2 separate regions of the Homo sapiens genome follow, and region 2 is linked to region 1. The links are contacts of gene promoters, found by promoter capture Hi-C in blood cells and fetal thymus (Javierre and others, 2016). All regions are on one chromosome and are shown on one strand. The core of a region is centred on a gene start or on the middle of the fragment in contact, and the rest is flanking DNA. Distances in the headings are between cores, read along the strand shown.

Region 1 (4,602 bases), core at 1,914-4,413:
GAAGGAGGAAGGCAGACATTGCTTTGGACAGATTACTGTAATGTAAAAGAGAAAAGCCTCCTATATAGGAGCCATCAAAGAATAACAGAAGACAATGGCAATAACTCGTGGATGGCGAGATGTAGACAATTAGAGTTCGAGGACCTCAAAGAAATGAGGAAATAGTGACAATAATAATAGCAATAATGTTGACAACCACAGTGCCTGAGCCTCACTGGTCCAGCTCATGCTGAAGCTTCATGTTCTGTTTTAAAGCAACTACAAGTCCCAAACTCTGAAGTCAGACTTCTCAAGTTTGAATCCAAACTCCTGAAACTGACACTTGCCAGTTTTGTGACCTCAGGGACCTCATTTATCTCTGCCTCAATTTTCAGATGAATACAGAATTCCCATTTTCCCAATAACAGACATGAGTTATTCAGAGCTTACTGGACTTTGGGATTTTATTAATCCTCCCACAGCCCCTGAAGTATTACTAAACACCACCGCCAATCACCTCCATGTCACAGTCACTGACCTGAGGCTAAGGGAGCTCCACAGATTCTCCTAGTCTTTTGTGTTTTCTGTTTGTTTGTTTCAGAGACAGGGTCTCACTCTATTACCCAGACTGGAGTGTAATGGCATGCTCAGAGTTCACTGTAACCTTGAACTCCTGGGCTCAAGCAATCCTTCTGCCTTAGCCGCCCAAGTAGCTGGGACTACAGGAACGCACCACTGCGCCCAACTATTTCTTTTTGGTAGAGCTGGGATCTTGCTATGTTGCCCAGGCTGGTCTCGAACTCCTAGCCTCAAGTGATCCTCTCACCTCAGCCTCCCACAGCACTGGGGCTACAGGTGTGAGCACCAAGTTCAGCCAGAGTTTTACATGTTATAAGCATGATTTATATATAAGAGACAGGATTTTAACCCAGGTCCCTCTGCTTCAGGGTTTAATACTGTGACCCCAATAATCCTCCACCACCCACGTGAATCTACTATAATACAGTTGTGAAGCATTTCTACATATTTTTGCTATTTAATCTATTTTAGCAGCTCCTGAAAATATCCCCAAGATGTGGGCAAAACCCTCATCACCAAATTCACAAGTACCAAATGCCTGACGAGGGGCAGTGCCTGGACCAGCTCATCCTCTCCCCTGGACCCCAGGGAGATTGCATAATGAACCATTAGCCTTTTCCTTCCCTGAGTCCTGCCAGCAGGTATCCCTAAGGCCAGTGTGCTTCAGGACCAGAAAACTCAAGTGGCTGAAGATAATGCAGGCTGTGGTCATGAGAACCCAGGCTTATGACTGGCCAAAATGCCCTATAGGCTGAAGGCAGGACGAACATCCAACAAAAGACCACAGGATTTTGCCCTTCCAGGCCATGTCTCAGCAGGTGGGGATGGGGGGAACCATGGTAACCTCATAAGTCCTCTTGGACCTCCTTAAACAACCAACACACTTTGCCTTTGTCTACACAGTCCTCTCTAGTGGAATGTCTGCCTTTCGCTTCCAATGGCCACTGTGACTTGCTGGAAAGACTGCAAAGTTCACCTCAGGGCTTCTCAGCCAACTGTCTGTAAAAACAAAGGCTCTGGTGGTCCACACGCTAAATATGAGTTTGTTACTTAAGTGCTATGTGACTTTCAGCAGGTAACTAAACAGGTCGGAGTCTTGACCTCCTCTTGTGTACAGCAGTGTTTATAATAGAATGTCACTTTAAGGAGATCAGGATTAAATGAGATGATAAATAATGCCCATTTCTCAGTTCACATCAAGGACTCAATGAAGGCCAACCGTTACAGTTCTTGTGTTATTATTTATGCTCTTTGTCCCCACAAAATCCTTTAAGACCTCAACTCAGTAGGTGTCTAAAACTTTGCCAGATTCTCTATACAAAAACGCTAGACCAAGGGCAGGTGAGAAGGGGACTACTTTAGTCTGAACTGCCATGAAAGGCCGCTTTAAAGAAGTGACATTTGAGCAGAGCCAACAAGATGTGAAAGGGTCTTGCAGAGATCTGAGGATAGTGTCTGAGGCTGAATGAACTGTAAAGGTGAAGGCTGAGGGGTAGGAAAGAACTCTGCGTGATCAGATTGATATGTCTGAAGGGCTGAGCCAGGGAGGAAAGGAAGGAAACAAGGACAGAGGTGGTCAGCCATAGTGGACCTGTGTCTGAAGCGCTGAGCCAGGGAGGAAAGGAAGGAAACAAGGACAGAGGTGGTCAGCCATAGTGGACCGGGTAGGGACTTGCAGGCCAAGGCTGAGTTCGGATGATGTGTGTGACGGGAGTCCCTGGAGTGGAACTTCATCCATCCTTCAAGCAATTATTAAGCAGCTTTCAGAGGCCTGACACTTTAGCAGTGGAAAGCTGCAGAAGGGCTAACTAGAAGTGGGGCATCGTATGTGATTGGTTAGGCTGAGCACGTATGGCTTTCTCTGCTTGGTCCTCTTTTGGAGGCGGAGGCAAAAATTAGAACAGTCAGTTACAAATCAAGTCCTATTTGGGGCCTACTGTTCCAGGAGTTACCGTTTAGCCTCCTGAAATGTCACCAGAGAGTAATCTAGCTCCTTGCAAGACTAACTTAAGGCAGACTGGCTTCCAGAGTAGTTTATTGCAGAACAGGAGGCTGGTTTCCTGGGCAGGTTGCTACAAAAAAATTGTACGTCACAGCCCTATAATCGATGTATAGTCTGCCTACTGTCCGCTTCAATATTCAGTCTCTCAGGTACTACCACGACAGGAGATAAACTAAGTGACGAGCCTGCTCCACGTTTCGTAAACAAACAAAACTACAAAGAGGAATCCTGTGGCTGTCTTGGCTTCCGGCCTGCCCAGGAGGCTTCCCCGAACTAGCAGAAAAGCAGCAAGGCCGAAACCTTGTCCACTCACCTGCGCCGGGTCCGTCAAAGCCATCGCCATACCGGGACCCTGTGGCCCTAGCGGGGCGGGGGCTGCGGCGAGCAGGGCGGGTCTCGCGGGCTCAGCCGAGCCCCACCCCTTCCCTGCGCCGGGCCCGGTGACCTTGGCTGACAGTCAAACTCTCTCGTTACGGGGAGGCTCACGGTTCGCTCCGAGACGCGGAGGTCGCTGTCGGCCTCCTACCTGCTCATTTCCCCAGCGCCGCCAGGGAGGCGGCCACGGAACACCGCCCCCTCCCTAGAGCCGGCGTGGACGGAACCGTCGCTCCCAAATTACGTCCCATCCAAATGCCGGAAGTCCCGCCCCAAGCTTCGCAACCCACAGGAAACGCCCCTGTCCTGGACCATCATTGGCCCCAGGGCCCGCCGTCGCACCTGGCAATGCCTTGTAGTTAATGTAGTTTTTCTCTACAAACCACCTGCAAAGGGGACAGATCCTGAGCCGGCAGGCCTCGGTGTAAAAGTCGCAGCGGGCCTACAGCCCGGCTCAGACCTGCCTCTGTCCTGGGGGCACAACTCGGAGGCCAGGGACCAAGCGCGAGACCGTCCATTCTTGGCCGGAGGAAATCGAGCCCCAGGAGTCAGGGACATTTGCCAGGGTCAGGGCCAGTGCAGAGACCCTGGACCAGGCTCCGGACTCTGACTTCCACCTTGCATTATTTCCCCTCCGGATCCTCTTATACAGATCAGCGGGCAGTCAGAGTAACCAAAGGGGGACGTCGGGCGGCGCGATGCCTCAGGCCTGGGATCCCAGCGCATTGGGAGGCCAAGGGGGGCGGATCGCTTGAGCCCAGGAGCTCAAGACCAGCTTGAGCAACATAGGGAGACTACCAAAAAAAAAAAAAATTTTTTTAAAATAAGCTGAGTGTGCTGGCGCACACCTGTGGTCCCAGAAGTCTGTGGCAGGAGGATCGCTTGAGGACAGGAGTTTGAGAACAGTCTGGGCGACAGAGCGAGACCTCATTGGTACCAAAAAAAAAAAAAAAAGAAAAAGAAAAGAAAAAAAATAGAGCGCGGTGGCTCACGCCTGTAATCCCAGCACTTTGGGAGGCCGAGGCGGGTAGATCACGAGATCAGGAGATCGAGACCATCCTGGCTAACACGATGAAACCCCGTCTTTACTAAAAATGCAAAAAATTAGCCGGGCGTGGTGGCTGGCGCCTGTAGTCCCAGCTACTCGGGAGGCTGAGGCAGGAGAATGATGTGAACCCGGGAGGCGGAACTTGCAGTGAGCCGAGATCGCGCCACTGCACTCCAGCCTGGGCGACAGAGTGAGACTCCGTCTCTCTCTCTCTCTCTCTCTCTACTTATATATACATATATTTATATATACATATATACATATATACGTATATATACATATGTATATATACGTATATATATGCACATATATATTTATATATATATTTATATATATATTTTTTGAGACAGGGTCTCGCTCTGTTGCTCAGGCCATAGTGCAGTGGCGCGATCACAGCTCACTGCAGCCTCAAACTCCAGGGTTCAAGTGATCCTCCCACCTCAGCCACCCAAGTAGCTGGGACTGCAGGCACGCACCACCACGCCCAGCAAATTGAGGGTTTTTTTGTTTTGTTTTGTAGTTTTTGTAGTCAGTTTCACCATGCTGCCCAGGCTGGTCTTGAACTCCTGTGCTCAAGTGATCCACTCACCTTGGCCTCCCAAAGTGCTGGGATTACAGG
Region 2 (4,194 bases), core at 1,406-3,905, about 20 Mb after region 1:
AAATTCAAAACTAGAGTTTGTGGAGGGAGGAAGAAAGGTCTGAAGGTAGTGAACAACAAGGAGGCCGGCCATCTGTTCCATTTTCAGACCCACTGGTAAGAGGCTGTAGCTGGGGAAATGTTGAGAGGGCTGCAGAGTCCTCCAGATACAGCCTAGTTTCTGTTAGACTCAGAATGTTAGGGCGTGTTCAAGGAAGTGGTTGAAGATAAAAGAGGAGTTGGTTGTTAATGAATTATGAATTCCATTATGAAGGCATACAGGAAAAGTGTTGAAAGTTGGGAAGAATGAGAAAAGGGGACAAATGAGACTTGATGGTATACAATGTCCGAAAAGACAGTTGACTAGAAATTCTGGGACTTCTTATAGTAGATAAATATAAATACAAGGTTGGATTGACATTTATTCTGGTTGGATTCAAGTCAGTTTTGGAGAGATAGCGTGGGATAGTGAAAGATGATTTCTTGAGTGTGAGAAACAAACTTACCCGTCCCAAAGAATGGACTCAGAGACCCGGAGAACAGCAAAAGTGAGACTTTTAATGATGGTCTTGCAAGATCAGTGTCTGATAGGCACACCCAACAGTTTCAACAAGCAATTTATCCCCTAGTGCACAGGTTCCTCCCCTGGTTCCTCATAGGCTGATAACTATGGGGTCACAATCTTCCCGGATGTTGCCTATTGATTGTTGGGTAGGGGCTTCAGGTGTTTTGTTTTTTGATTTTTGTGAGACAGAGTCTTGTTCTGTCACCAGGCTGGAGTGCAGTGGTGCAATCACGGCTCACTGCAACCTCCGCCTCCCAGGTTCAAGTGGATTCTCCTGCCTCAGCCTCCCGAGTAGCTGGGACTACAGGTGCGTGCCACCACGCCCAGCTAACTTTTCTATTTTTAGTAGAGATGGGGTTTCACCGTGTCGGCCAGGATGGTCTCGATCTCTTGACTTTGTGATCCGCCCGCCTCGGCCTTCCAAACTGCTGGGATTACAGGCGTGAGCCACCGCGCCCAGCCGGTGTGTGTGTGTGTTTTTTTTTTAGGCTTGTCTTGCTGCATTTGGTTGCGGCCCACAATGCACTGCAATCCTAGTTAGCTCAAGGTCTCTTCAATAGTTGACTTATGACCTAAGCAGCTGGGCAGGCTGATAAAAGCAGACAAAATGAGCTATTTTGCAGGCTAGCAAACTTTCATCTTAGACTAAACTTCTTTGGTTTGGGTGAAGGCAACTAAGTGGGGGAAAGGGAGAAAGCGGGAGGCTGACAAGCAGGCATCATCTATCCAAGCAGGGGCCTAGTATATCCTGTTTCTTCTGTAGTTTGCTTACCTAAGCCAATTCAAGGCATTTTGTCTTGGAAATGGACCACTGTATACATTATTTCCTTCACTGAGTATCTCTCAGAAAGAAGGAAGCTTAAGATAGAAGGGGGGTCAAGGTAGGCAGAATGATGGCCCTGCAACCAATGTTTACTTCCTAATCCCTGGAAACTAGGACGATGCTACTTTATATGGCAAAAAGGACTTTGCAAAGGGGATAAAGTTAAGAACCTTGAAATGGGGGCGATTATCTTGTTGGACTAATATAATGACATGGGTCCTTAAAGTCAGTGAACCTTTCCTGGCTGAGTTTAAAGTCAGAGGGAGATGTGACCGCAGAAGAATGGTCAGAGAGATGCCACATTGCTTACTAGATAGAGGAAGTGGGCCTTAAGCCAAGGAATGTTGGTGGCCTCTAGAAGCTGGAAAACATAAGAAAACGAATTCTCCCCTGGAGCTTCCAGAAAGGAACACAGCCCTACCAACACCTTGATTTTAGCCTAGTAAGACCCAACTCAGACTTCTACTGAACTATATGATAATAGATTTGTATTATTTTAAGCCACTACCTCATGGCAGTAGAAAACTAATACAGTGGTGTAGTGTCTTGGCCTCAGTGTTGTGGAGGAGTCTTGATCCCTGTGACATAAGGGGACCTCAACCTCTGTTGATTATGTTGAAGACTTCCAGTAAAGTACATAGGTCCCCACTTCACCAATAATATAATTTACAGTTTTGCTATATTGTGTTATTTTTAAACTTTGGAACTTAGTGAACTTTTATTTGTGATCTAACATCTGGTCAGTCTATACTTACTTTTTGCCTTACACTTGATTTGTCTTGGATTGAGAGAGGTGTATTAATGAAATTTTATTTTATTTTATTTTATTTTTTTTGAGACGGGGTCTCCCTCTGTCGCCCAGGCTGGAGTGCAGTGGTGGGATCTCGGCTTACCGCAACTTCTGGTTCAAGCAATTCTCCTGCCTCAGGCTCCTGAGTAGCTGGGACTACAGGCATGCGCCAACATGCCCGGCTAATTTTTTTTGTATTTTTAGTAGACACGTGGTTTCACCACATTGGCCAGGCTGGTCTTGAACTCCTGACCTTGTGATCTGCCCACCTTGGCCTCCCAAAGTGCTGGGATTACAGGTGTGAGCCACCGTGCACAGCCAAAATTTTATTTTATATAACCTGTAACTTTTGCTTTATGAAAGTTGTTGTTGCTTTGATATACAGATATTAATGATTGTTATATGTTTATTATGAATTGCAGGCTTTAGCATGCTCAAGATCATGGCCTCTGCTTATTTTTTTGTTTGTATTTGCCTTGTAATATGCTGTATTTCTTCCTAGTCTTTTTATTGAAGTTTATCATATATACAGACAATACGTTATTCTCATGAATAATCAGGAAGAGAGCATTCTTGCACTTGTCATTTTGTGTTTACATGTATGCATTTCTATTGGGTTATTCCAAGGAGAGGAATTGGTGAGTAAGAGTATGTGAATCTCCTCAAGCAGATACTGTCAGTTTTCCAAAATGGCTGAACCAGTTAAAAGTTCCCATCAACAGTTTATGCAAGTTCCAATTGATCCATCTTCTTGTTAACACATGGCATTGTCAGACTGTAAAATGTTTGCCAATATGGTGGATATGTAGTGGTATTGCATTGTGGTTTTCCTAACTGATGACTAAGGAACTTGAATACCTTTGTTTTAATGTGCATTGTCCATTTGGATATCTTCCTTTGGGAAGTGCCAGTTCAAGTTCTTAGCCTAGCTGTTGGGAAACTTGTCTTTCATTGTTAATCCTTAAGAGTTCTTTGTATAATCTGAATGAGTCCCTTGTCAGCTTTGTGTATTGTATATATCGTCTCCTAGCGTAAGGTTTGCATTTTTACTCACTGTCTTTTTTTTTTTTTTTTTTTTTTTTGAGATGGAGTTTCGCTCTTGTTGCCCAGGCTGGAATGCAATGGTGCGATCTCGGCTCACCGCAAGCTCTGCCTCCCCGGTTCAAGTGATTATCATGCCTCAGCCTCCTGAGTAGCTGGGATTACAGGCATGCGCCACCATGTCTGGCTAATTTTGTATTTTTAGTAAGAGACAAGGTTTCTCCATGTTGGTCAGGCTGGTCTCGAACTCCTGACCTCAGATGATCCACCCGCCTCAGCCTTCCAAAGTGCTGGAATTACAGGCATAAGCCACCATGACCAGCCCATTCACTCTTTTCTGATGAACAAAAATTGCTTTTTAAAATGTAGTCTGATCATTATCATTTTTCTTTTATGGTTTGTACTCTGTATCTTATTCAAATCTTTGCTTATCCCCAAGGTATGAAGATATTCTGTATTTTCATCTATATTTATCTGTCACATGTAGGTATATAAACCTGGAATTGATTTTTGTGTCGTGAGGGGAAATCATGATTTGTTTTCCTCATATAAATTCAGTTGACCTGGCACCATGTATTCAAGACCATCCTTTCTTCCATGTTATTTATTTGCTCTGAAATCTATGGTGTCTTGATATTATAGCCACCTAAGCATTATTTTGATTATGATTTGCATGGTATATCTTTTGCTATCCTTTTACTTTTAAGCTTCCTATACCACTATATTGGGGAAACTGACACCTTGAAAATTATCAGCCTTTCATCCCATGAATGTGATAAATTATTTCATTTGTTTAGGTCTTCTTTAACTATTTGTAGTAATTAATATAAAGACATTGTACAGGCCAGGTGCGGTGGCTCATGCCTGTATTCCCAGCACTTTGGGAGGCTGAGGCAGGTGGATCACCTGAGGTCAGGAGTTCGAGACCAGCCTGACCAATATGGTGAAACTCTGTCTCTACTAAAAATACAAAAATTAGCTGGGCATGATGGCTGGT

The links. Contacts are between HindIII fragments. The CHiCAGO score rates a contact against its expected background, and 5 or more counts as called.
Region 2: a fragment that was not itself captured here is called in contact with the fragment with the promoter of ZNF805 in region 1 in 1 of 17 cell types (non-activated CD4 T cells); the score reaches 8.2 in non-activated CD4 T cells.

The regions. Positions count from the first base shown.
Region 1 is chr19:57,239,193-57,243,794 of GRCh38, reverse strand. ZNF805 (zinc finger protein 805) reads right to left here and starts at 3,163. Exons shown (of 4, transcript NM_001023563.4): 1 at 2,874-3,163. The coding sequence starts at 2,903. RefSeq lists a silencer at 2,866-2,935 and enhancers at 3,056-3,325, 3,346-3,565. The HindIII fragment of the contact is 2,977 bases long and covers 238-3,214 here.
Region 2 is chr19:36,833,288-36,837,481 of GRCh38, reverse strand. All of the region lies in intron 1 of ZNF790 (zinc finger protein 790), which reads left to right. Among named protein-coding and RNA genes, the nearest start is that of ZNF790, 3.0 kb to the left of the region's middle. The HindIII fragment of the contact is 2,503 bases long and covers 1,404-3,906 here.